Regions from separate parts of the Homo sapiens genome. Here regions 2 and 3 are each linked to region 1. Evidence: promoter capture Hi-C in human tissues and cell types (Jung and others, 2019). All regions are on one chromosome and are shown on one strand. Each heading gives the region's core, a stretch centred on a gene start or on the middle of the fragment in contact. The rest is flanking DNA. Distances are from core to core; before and after follow the strand shown.

Region 1 (3,358 bases), core at 378-2,877:
CTTATCCTTCAATGTGTATTTCCTAAAGACAAAGACATTGTCTTATATGACCATAATACAATTACCCAAATCGAAAAATTTAATATGATTACAGTATAATCTAATATACTGTCCATTTTTAAATTTTGCCAGTTGTCACAATAACGTTCTTCATAGTTATTTCTTCCTTAATCCAGGATCCCATCCAGGATCACCCATAGATTTAGTTGCCCTGTCTCTTTAGTATCCTTTAATCTGCCACAAACCCTTAGTCTTTGTCTTTTGTAACGTTAACACTTTTGAATAATTTATGGGCCCGTCATCTAGCGATGTCTACCTCAAACGCAACTCGTGCTTTTTTTGCATGAATACTACATTATGCTGCGTCCTTTTCAGGGTATTATATTAATAGGCATATGATATTGGCTCCTCCTATAACTGTGGCGTTAGTCTTGATCATTTGGTTATGATGGTGTCCACCAAATTTCTCTATTGTAAACTTTTTTTTTTTTTCTCGCTCTGTTGCCCAGGCTGGAGTGCAGTGGCAGGCTGACGGTTCGCTGCAGCCTCGAACTCGTGTGGCTCAAGCAATCCTCCCATCTCAGCCTCACGAGTAGCTAGGACCATAGGACCTAGCCACCACATTTGGCTAATTTTTTGTATTTTTTGTAGAGATGGGGTTTCTCCACGTTGCCCAGGCTGGTCTCCAACTTCTGGGCTAAAGTGATTCTCCCGCTTCAGCCTTCCAAAGTGCTGGATTACAGGCGTGAGTCAACACGCCCAGCCTTGTAAACTATTTCTTTTCATCTTTGTAAATAATACATAATTTATGGGGAGTTATTTTGAGACTATGGAAATATCATGTTCCTCATCACGTTTACCTCCTAGTTTTAGTACCTTTTGATGATTCTTGCCTAAATCAGTTATTAGAATACAATTCATATATGATAAAATTCATTAAAGTATATAGTAATTCAGTGGTTTTTGTATATTCATACGGTTGTGTAACCATCACCGCTAATTCCAGAGCATTTTTATCACCCCGAAAATGAAACCCTTCACCCATTAGCACTCATTTCCCCATTTCCCCCAGCCTCTGGCGACCACTAATCTACTTTTTATCTCTATGGATTTGCCTATTTAAGACATCCTATATAAATGCAATCATACAATATGTGGTCCTTTGTGTCTAACTTATTTCACTTAATATGTTCTCACGGTTCATTCATGTTGTAGTTCTTATTGATATTTCATACCTTTTTATTTGCCTAAATCAATCATTTCTATGATTCCTAAAAAATGGTGCTAGTCTAACTACATTATTTCCATCTACACTTACTAGGCAACATCTTTATCATCCATTGTCAGGAAGCCCTTTAAGAAAACTGCACAGTGAAGTTCATTTTAATAAATAGGGTTTCCTTGCTCTCAAGTAGTTACTAATCTTAGACAAAAGGGTCTAGGATGACCACCTTTCTTGAGGTTTACATGATCTTCCCTGACTTCCACTTGAAAGGCACCCTGTGAGTCTCTCTCCGCCTGTTATCCCACAGGCTCCTCCCCACTCCTCCAGGTACCCCTTCCCCGGCGGCTGCAGGAGGAGGAAGTGACGCACCGGAAGTGTCCCTGTTCCCCTTGCTGTGGGGGTAAGGAATCAAGCCCCCAAGATGGCGGCAGCGGCGGAGGAGCGGATGGCAGAGGAAGGAGGCGGCGGCCAAGGCGACGGCGGTTCCTCTTTGGCCTCCGGCTCTACCCAGCGACAGCCTCCACCGCCCGCGCCACAGCACCCGCAGCCGGGGTCCCAGGCGCTCCCAGCCCCCGCGCTGGCTCCGGACCAGCTGCCTCAAAACAACACGCTTGTGGCGCTGCCCATCGTAGCCATCGAGAACATCCTCAGCTTTATGTCCTACGACGAAATTAGCCAGCTCCGCCTGGTGAGGCCCCCGCAGAACTCCTGCCTCCCTCTCCCCCCGGCCGAGGTCTGGGAGATGAGAAGGGAGCGCGTTCCCCGGGAAGGGAGCCCCCCGCGAGCCCCAGCCGGCTACAGATCTGGGAGGGAGCCGCTCCCGTCCCGAACTCTCCCTTGGCGTCAGTCAGCAGGAGTGGGCTGGTTCCCGATTGCGTCCTAGCTGCGGAGCTGGGGTTACTTCCTGAGGGGACTTCGCCTTGGGGGCTCCTTGCCCCCCGCCCGGAAGCGGGCCCTCTACGGGAGGGGTAGCGGAGTTGGTCTTCCCACCTTCCGCCTGGCCCGAGAGTAGACCCGGAGAGGTCATGTCGCCTGCCTTTTGTATGCCGCTTCCAGCCCCCGGCCTGGGTTTGGGGAGAAAACTCAGAAGTAGGCAGATGATCCCAGCCAGGTTTGGTTTATCTTGCAAGAATAACGAATTGTTCCCCACCCCAACCACCCAAGTTTTCTTGTTCGAGAAGATTGAGTAGACTAAGGTGGCTCAGTGACCCCAAACCCAGGTAGAGGTTCCGAAGAATTCGAACGTGTTTACTTAGCGTTAGCCCCAGCGCCCTAATTGACCACTAAAGTAGAGCCTTGGGAAATGACCATTCCTGCTTTGCCTCATCCTAACGCTTCCCACCGTAGAGAAGCAACTTACCCCTTGACGGGTTTTTTCTCTTTTGCAATTTATTTTTAACTAGTGATTTACGCCCACCCACCTGCTTTAGGAGAGGTTTCTTTATACCTTAAAATCACAATAGGTCAGTCCATGATTTTTAAAAATAATGAATTTGCCATTGGGGTTTTACTTCACTCCAGAGGTTTGAAGATGTGGTGATTGTTAGTTCAGTTAGATATTTTGCTGCCTTTCAATGAAATTATCTTTAAGTGGTAAAGAAATTGAAGGAGGTGGACATTTTGAAGTGATTGCAAACCGATTCCATGGAGAAGCTAAATCTGTGCTGGGAATTGTTTTTAAGAGGACAAAGATATTTCTGAATGTGCTGTGTATAACATCTTCTTATTACTCAATATGCTATATTGTAGGCATACACCTCCACTTTCAAGTGGATTATAATTACATTTTTAAAGGAAATCATAACATTTTTAAAAGAGAACTTATAAATATTAATTCAAACTGATGGCCAATTTTTTTTCTAGTCAACACAGCAGTTCAACCATGCCAGTCTGCAGGATGGAAAATTTCTTCAGCTGAAAATAGATATTTCACAATTGATTGCCTCTGAATTTCCAAAACGTTTTCATTCTAGAATTTCATGTAGAATCTTAAATATTCCTTCAGATTTTTACAAACAGTGGCGTTTAATCAAAATTCGCGCTGTACATATACAGTGTTTGGAAAATTGGGCATATAACATTTGATTGAATTGAACCATTCAACCAGACAATGGCTTTGTAAATCTTGGAATA
Region 2 (3,358 bases), core at 450-2,949, 160 kb after region 1:
AGTGAGGCTTAGAGGGATTATTTGTCCAAGTTCTCATCACTAGATAAAGGAAGAAATGAGACTCAATCTCAGGCTGAATGGATCCCAAGGTCTGATGTTTTCGAGTTACTCAAAGATCTAACCGTCACAATACACTTCCCTTGGGGCAAATCTACAGCTAGCTTTCGTTTCTTTGGTAGAGATGGGGTCTTGCTATGCTGTCCAGGCTGGTCGTGACCTCCTGGCCTCAAGCAATCCTCTTGCCTCAGCCTCCCAAAGTGCTGGGATTATAGGTGTGAGCCGCTGCACCCCACCAAGACTAAGCTTTTTTGTTTGTTTGTTTGTTTTGTTTTTTGAGATGAAGTTTCACTCTTGTTGCCCAGAATGGAGTACAATGGTGTGATCTTGGCTCACTGCAACCTCCATCTCCCAGGTTCAAGCAATTCTCCTGCCTCTGCCTCCCAAGTAGCTGGGATTACAGGCGTATGCCACGATGCCTGGCTAATTTTGTAATTTCAGTAGAGATGCGGTTTCACCACGTTGGTCAGGCTGGTCTTCAAACTCCTGACTTCAGGTGATCTGCCCACCTCGGCCTCCCAAAGTGCTGGGATTACAGGAGTGAGCCACTGCGCCCGGCCCTAGACTAAGCTTTTGAACCCCAAATTTCCCAGTATATCAGGTATTCTAGATCTCATTTTATTTTATTTTTAAAGCCAGTCAAATTTAACAGTGGGAGGTTGTATACCAACTTTGGTGAGACTAACTTTTTTTTTTTTTTTTTTTTTGAGACAGGGTTTTACTCTGTAGCCGAGGCTAGAGTGTACTGGTGTGATATCAGCTCACTGCAGCCTTCCCCTCCTGGGCTCAAGCAGTCCTCCGACCTCAGCCTCCCAAGTAGCTGGGATTACTGGTGTGTGTCACCACGCCTGGCTAATTTTCATATTTTTTCTAGAGATCCTGTTGCTATATTGCCCAGGCTAGTCTCGAACCCCTGAGCTCAACCAATCCTCCTGCCTTGGCCTCCCAAAGTGCTGGGATTACAGGCTTGTGCCACTGCACCTGGACGACACTAATGTTAATAAGTTCTGATAACCCACCACCATTAGACATTAGACCAGCCAGGTGTTCCAGATCTTTTTAGTGCAACACATACAAGAGTATCTGGGACACTGAGGTATTTTCTCTTTTCCTTGAAGCAAATAATACAAAGTACAGCTACCTCAGCAATATCTAAGTGAAAGGAAACATTCAGGGAGTTGGTATAAATTCAGGGAGGGGGATAAATCACTTAGATACAGAAACAACAAAAAAGTTTTAAATGAAGGAAATGAGAAAAGTGGTGCTGTGTTTTTGGTCATTAATTGCTTTTCTTCACCATAAATTTTATGTACAGAGGTGGTAATGGGCTTACCTCATTTCTTTCTTTCTTTTTTCTTTTTTTTTTTGAGACAGGGGTCTTGTTCTGTCACCCAGGCTGGAAGTACAGTGGTGAGATCTCAGCTTACTGCAACCTCTGCCTTCTAGGCTCAAGCAATCCTCCTACCTCAGTCTCCCAAGTGGCTGGGACTACAGGTATGCACCACCACACCTGGCTAATTTTTCTCTCTTTTTCTTTCTTTTTTTTTTTTTTGTAGAGCCGGGATTTCACCATGTTGCCCTTGCTGGTCTTGAACTCCTGGACTCAAGCAATCTGCCCACCTCGGCTGCCCAAACTGCTGGGATTACAGGTATGAACTACCGCGCCCAGCTTACCCCACTGATTTCTCTAGAAAAAAAAAAATTGGTGCTCCTTATTATCACTCCTTGGTAACATAACACTAACAGAATCATAATCCATACTCAAAAATATAAGGAAGTAATGGGTAAAAAACATTTTTTCTACATAAGCAAGACAAACTCAGAGTCAATACAAGAATGACTGATAGATTTTGCTGCATTAAAGCCATAATATTCTGGCCGGGCATTGTGGCTCACACCTGTAATCCCAGCACTTTGGGAGGCCGAGACATGTGAATCACCTGAGGTCAGGAGTGCAAGACCAGCCTGGCCAACATGGCAAAACCCCATCTCTACTAAAAATACAAAAAATTAGCTGGGCATGGTGGTGGGAACCTGTAATCCCAGCTGCACGGGAAGCTGAGGCAGAAGAATTGCTTGAACCCGGGAGGCGGAGGCTGCAGTAAGCCAAGATTGCATCATTGCATTCCAGCCTGGGCGACGGAGTGAGACTCTCAAAACAGAAAACAAACAAACAAACAAACAAAACCTATAATATTCTATATAATAAAATTAAATATAAGTCATAAGACTGGGAAAAATAGTGTCAACACATAATTAAATAAAAGACTACTTTCCATCATAGAGTACCAATTAATGTAAAAAAAGAAAAAGACAGCAATAGCAAAAGGGTTGAAAGATAAGATCAAATAATTTCAAATCACTGGAGATAGTCAACCTCATGGTAATCAGGGACATGTATACTAAAATGTAATATGATTTGCCAATAAAACTGCCAAAAAATAAAAAGACAGGTATAATCCATTGTTGATAGGAAATGGTTATTTTCACACACTGTTGGTGGGCACATGTAACTGACAGTTTTTGTGAAGGATGATACAGCATTATTTTTCAAAATCTAATATATATCAATCTTCAACCCTGATTTTCACTTCCAAAAATCTATCTCATATAGTCCCATCACAGGTGCACAAAAATACGTGAAACAAGTTCAGCAGAGTTCTATTTACAACTGGAAACAATCTAAATGTCCAAAACAGGAGAATTATTATGTAAATTCTGCTGTATCCAGACTATTATACAATATCTATTTTTAAGTTATTACGTACATGAGAAAGTCATCAAGACAGAATGACCACATTTATATAAAAAATAGAAGCCTAGGTCCAGGCATGATGTAATCCCAGCACTTTGGGAGGCTGAGGCAGGAGGATCGCTTGAGGCCAGAAGTTCAATACAAGCCTGGGCAACACAGCAAGATCCCACCTCTAAAAACAAAAACTTAGCTGGGTGTGGTGGTGCACACCCGTACTACTAGCTACTCAGGCAGCTGAGGTGGGATCATTTCTTGAGCCCAGGAGCTCAAGGCAGCAGGCAGTGAGCTACAATCACACCACTGCACTCCAGCCTGGGAGACAGGGTAAGACCCTGTCTCAAACAACAGCAACAACAACAAAACAGAAGCGTAAAATATAAATTTTTTTATGTTTCTGGAAAAAATTCTAGAATGATGCATACTAAATGACAACTATTAGCAGTCTCGTAATAACCTCCAAAAAGAGTAATACGGAGGAGAATGGAAAGAAATTTACTCTCTTTATACTTGTGTTTTATTTGAATTTTTCACAAATGTGTATTCATG
Region 3 (3,358 bases), core at 1-2,500, 140 kb after region 1:
AAAAAAAGCAATTAACATGAGATGAGAATAACCTCTTTATAAAAAATAAAAAATTAATAAATTGCATTTTATTTAAATGAAAAGCTTCTGCTCATCAAAATACATCTCTTCGGCTATGCATGGTGGCAGATCACCTGAGGTCAGGAGTTTGAAACCAGCCTGGCCAACATGGTGAAACCCTGTGCCTACTAAAAAAAACAAAACATTAGCTGGGTGTGGTGGTCCACACCTGTAATCCCAGCTACTTGTGAGGTTGAGGCAGAAGAATCACTTGAACCTGGGAGGCGGAGGCTGCAATGAGCGGAGATCGTGCCACTGCACTCCAGCCTGGGCGACAGAGCAAGACTCTTGTCTCAAAAACAATAACAAAAAAACAAAACATGTCCTTAAGTAAATGAAAAGTCCACCCCACCTTCCGGCCCCAAACTGCTCTTCTTCCAGGATTCCCTATCTCAGATAATGATCACCACACCACTCCACCCCACCCTACCTCCCAAATACCAGGCAGGTTTCTCCCTTCCCTCTAACCAATTTCCATCAAGCATTCCTCTGATTACGTCAACCCTCAGTAAAGGCAAAATGTGAGTCCTCCTAAATGGTCCTGCCTCTAGACTTCCTCTCTCTGGGCCTCTTTACAATGCCGCTAGTGTTATTGTCCTAAAATACACGTCCAATTCTCTCAAATTCCGCTCCCACTGCAGAATGAATCCTCCAGCTGTCACTATGGCAGGAAATCCCTTTAGGATCTGACCATCTTCCTTTCTGGTTTTATTCTTCCTACACATTCTTCCAACTCCCACGCCCTGTTTACACCAGATGTCTTGCTGTTCCCTAAACAATCCAGAAGCTTCTTGCCTTCTCTGTGCTCTCAGTGGTTCCCTTCCCTGAAGTGCCTCCCTCCTCATTTATACCTGTGGGAATTCTCAAAGGACACCTCTTTCAGGAAGTTTTCCTTGAGTCCCCCCAGATAAACTCTCTCACCTTCCTTTGTGCTTGCCAGACCCTTGGTATCAGGAGCACAGAGCAAGCCCCATACCTGAAGCTCATTTTGACCATTCCTGACTCCTCCACAAAGACCCCATTTTTAATAAAATCACATCATTTCCAACAGTCCCTTAACCATTAATATGAGGGTTCTTATAGCTCACAATGTTCAGACACAGGCTATAATTAATGAGATTCACGTTTCTAATAAACCTACTAAGACTTAACCAATGAGTTACTCCTCTACAAAGAGGTAAATTATTATTATTCCCTTTTTAGCTAAAATTCCAAACCTGTTAGATGTTGTTCTTTAACCACCTTATGGAACCCATATACTTATTATTCAATGGTTTCATCACTATTCAGCACATTGTTGGAATTCTCTCTTGGAATGCTAGGATTCCATACTTGGAAATAGGAAAGAATATTACTGCATAACACTTTCAATATCATACTAGAGCATGGTTCAACAAGCCTAAGGGTCTTCTGACTCTACAGAGCAGAGGTTGTCAAATATTCATGTCTCAGAATCCCTTTGCACTCTTAAAAATTATTGAGGACTCCTTTGTAACCTTTCTCTCCTGCCCTTACCTGCTCTCCTTTATCCTTAGGCAGCCACCTATCTGTTTTGGCACTATAGATTAGTTTGCATTTTCTAAAGTTTTATGTAAGTGGAATTATACAATATGTACTGTGCTTTCTTTCATGCAACATAATCATTTTGGGTTTCACCCAAGTTGTTTCATGTGTCAGTAATTTTCTTGTACAAGTCTTTGTATATGCTTTTTTTTTTAATGACAGAGTCTCACTCTGTCACCCAGGCTAGAGTGCAGTGGGGCGATCTCGGCTCATTGCAACCTCTGCCTCCTGGGTTCAAGCAGTTCTCTGCATCAGCCTCCCAAGTAGCTGAGATTACAAGTGTGCCCCCCTGCCCCCCACGCCCGGCTAAGTTTTCTATTTTTAGTAGAGACAGGGTTTCACCATCTTGGCCAGGCTGGTCTTGAGCTCCTGACCTCATGATCCACCCGCCTTAGCCTCCCGAAGTGCTGGGATTACAGGCCTGAGCCACGGCTCCCAGGCTGTATATGCTTTCATTTCTCTTCAGTAAATTACCTAAGTGTAAGATACCAGTAGTATGGCCATATCAAACTGTAGGTATATGCTTAACTTTTAAGAAATTGCTGGCCGGGTGGAGTGGCTCACGCCTGTAATCCCAGCACTTTGGGAGGCTGAGGCGGGAGGATCACAAGGTCAAGAGATTGAGACCATCCTGGCCAACATGGTGAAACCCCGTCTCTACTAAAAATACAAAAATTAGCTAGGCGTGGTGGCACATGCCTGTAATCTCAGCTATTCAGGAGGCTGAGGCAGGAGAATCACTTGAACTCAGGAGGCGGAGGTTGCAGTGAGCCGAGATCAGGCCACTGCACTCCAGCCTTGGGACAGAGCAAGGCTCGGTCTCAAAAAAAAAAAAAAAAAGAAAAGAAAAAAAGAAATTGCCAAACTGTTTTCCAAACTACTTGTACCATTACATTCCCATCATCAGTGCATGAAAGTTCCAGTTCCTCCATATCCTTGCCAACATTTGGCACAGCCAGTCTTTTCAATCTTTTAGTTATTCTAAGGTTTGTAGTGCTTACTGTGGCTTTAATTTGCATTTCCCTAGTGACTAATGGTGTGAAGCATTTTTCATGAGTTTGCCATTTGTACACCTCCTATGGTGAAGTAACTGTACAAATCTTTTGGCCATTTTTATGTTTAAAGTTGATTAAATAATTTTGTAAACTGACAAAGAAAAATGGTATATATTTAGGTTGTACAACATGTTTTTTTTTGTTTTGAGATGGAGTCTCACTCTGTCGCCCAGGCTGGAGTGCAGTGGCATGATCTCAGCTCACTGCAACCTCTGCCTCCCGGGTTCAAGTTCATTCTCCTGCCTCAGCCTCCTGAGCAGCTGGGATTACAGGTGACCACCACCATGCCCGGCTAACTTTTGTATTTTTAGTAGAGACGGGGTTTCACCATATTGGTCAGGCTGGTCTCGAACTCCTGACCTCGTGATCCACCTGCCTTGGCCTCCCAAAGTGCTAGGATTACAGGCATGAGCCACAGTGCCTGGCATTTTTTTTTTTTTTTTTTTGAGATGGAGTTTTGCTCTTGTTGCCCAGGCTGGAGTGCAATGGCGCAATCTCAGCTCACCGCAACCTCTACCTCCTGGATTCAAGTGATTCTCCTGCGTCAGCCTCCCAAGTAGCTGGGATTACAGGCATGCACCACCATGCCCGGCTAATTTGTTTTTTTTGTTTTTTTTTTTTTTGTATTTTTAGTAGAAACAGGGTTTCTCCATGTTGGTCAGGCTGGTCTCGAACTCCCA

Evidence for each region. Contacts are between HindIII fragments. The study calls those that stand out against the background at their distance.
Region 2: a contact is called between a fragment that was not itself captured here and the fragment with the promoter of FBXO28 in region 1, in 3 of the 25 tissues and cell types used here (H1 embryonic stem cells, aorta and liver).
Region 3: a contact is called between a fragment that was not itself captured here and the fragment with the promoter of FBXO28 in region 1, in 1 of the 25 tissues and cell types used here (pancreas).

Annotation. Positions count from the first base shown.
Region 1 is chr1:224,112,484-224,115,841 of GRCh38, forward strand. It overlaps FBXO28 (F-box protein 28), which reads left to right and starts at 1,628. Exons shown (of 5, transcript NM_015176.4): 1 at 1,628-1,913. The coding sequence starts at 1,647. It overlaps LOC105373056 (a long non-coding RNA gene), which reads right to left and starts at 1,557. Exons shown (of 3, transcript XR_007066897.1): 1 at 1,452-1,557. RefSeq lists enhancers at 1,271-1,400, 1,421-1,480, 1,621-1,690. The HindIII fragment of the contact is 33,635 bases long and covers 1-3,358 here.
Region 2 is chr1:224,268,342-224,271,699 of GRCh38, forward strand. The region is part of intron 17 of NVL (nuclear VCP like); the gene reads right to left. Among named protein-coding and RNA genes, the nearest start is that of MIR320B2, 13 kb to the left of the region's middle. The HindIII fragment of the contact is 3,616 bases long and covers 1-3,358 here.
Region 3 is chr1:224,251,286-224,254,643 of GRCh38, forward strand. All of the region lies in intron 18 of NVL (nuclear VCP like), which reads right to left. Among named protein-coding and RNA genes, the nearest start is that of MIR320B2, 4.1 kb to the right of the region's middle. The HindIII fragment of the contact is 6,578 bases long and covers 1-3,358 here.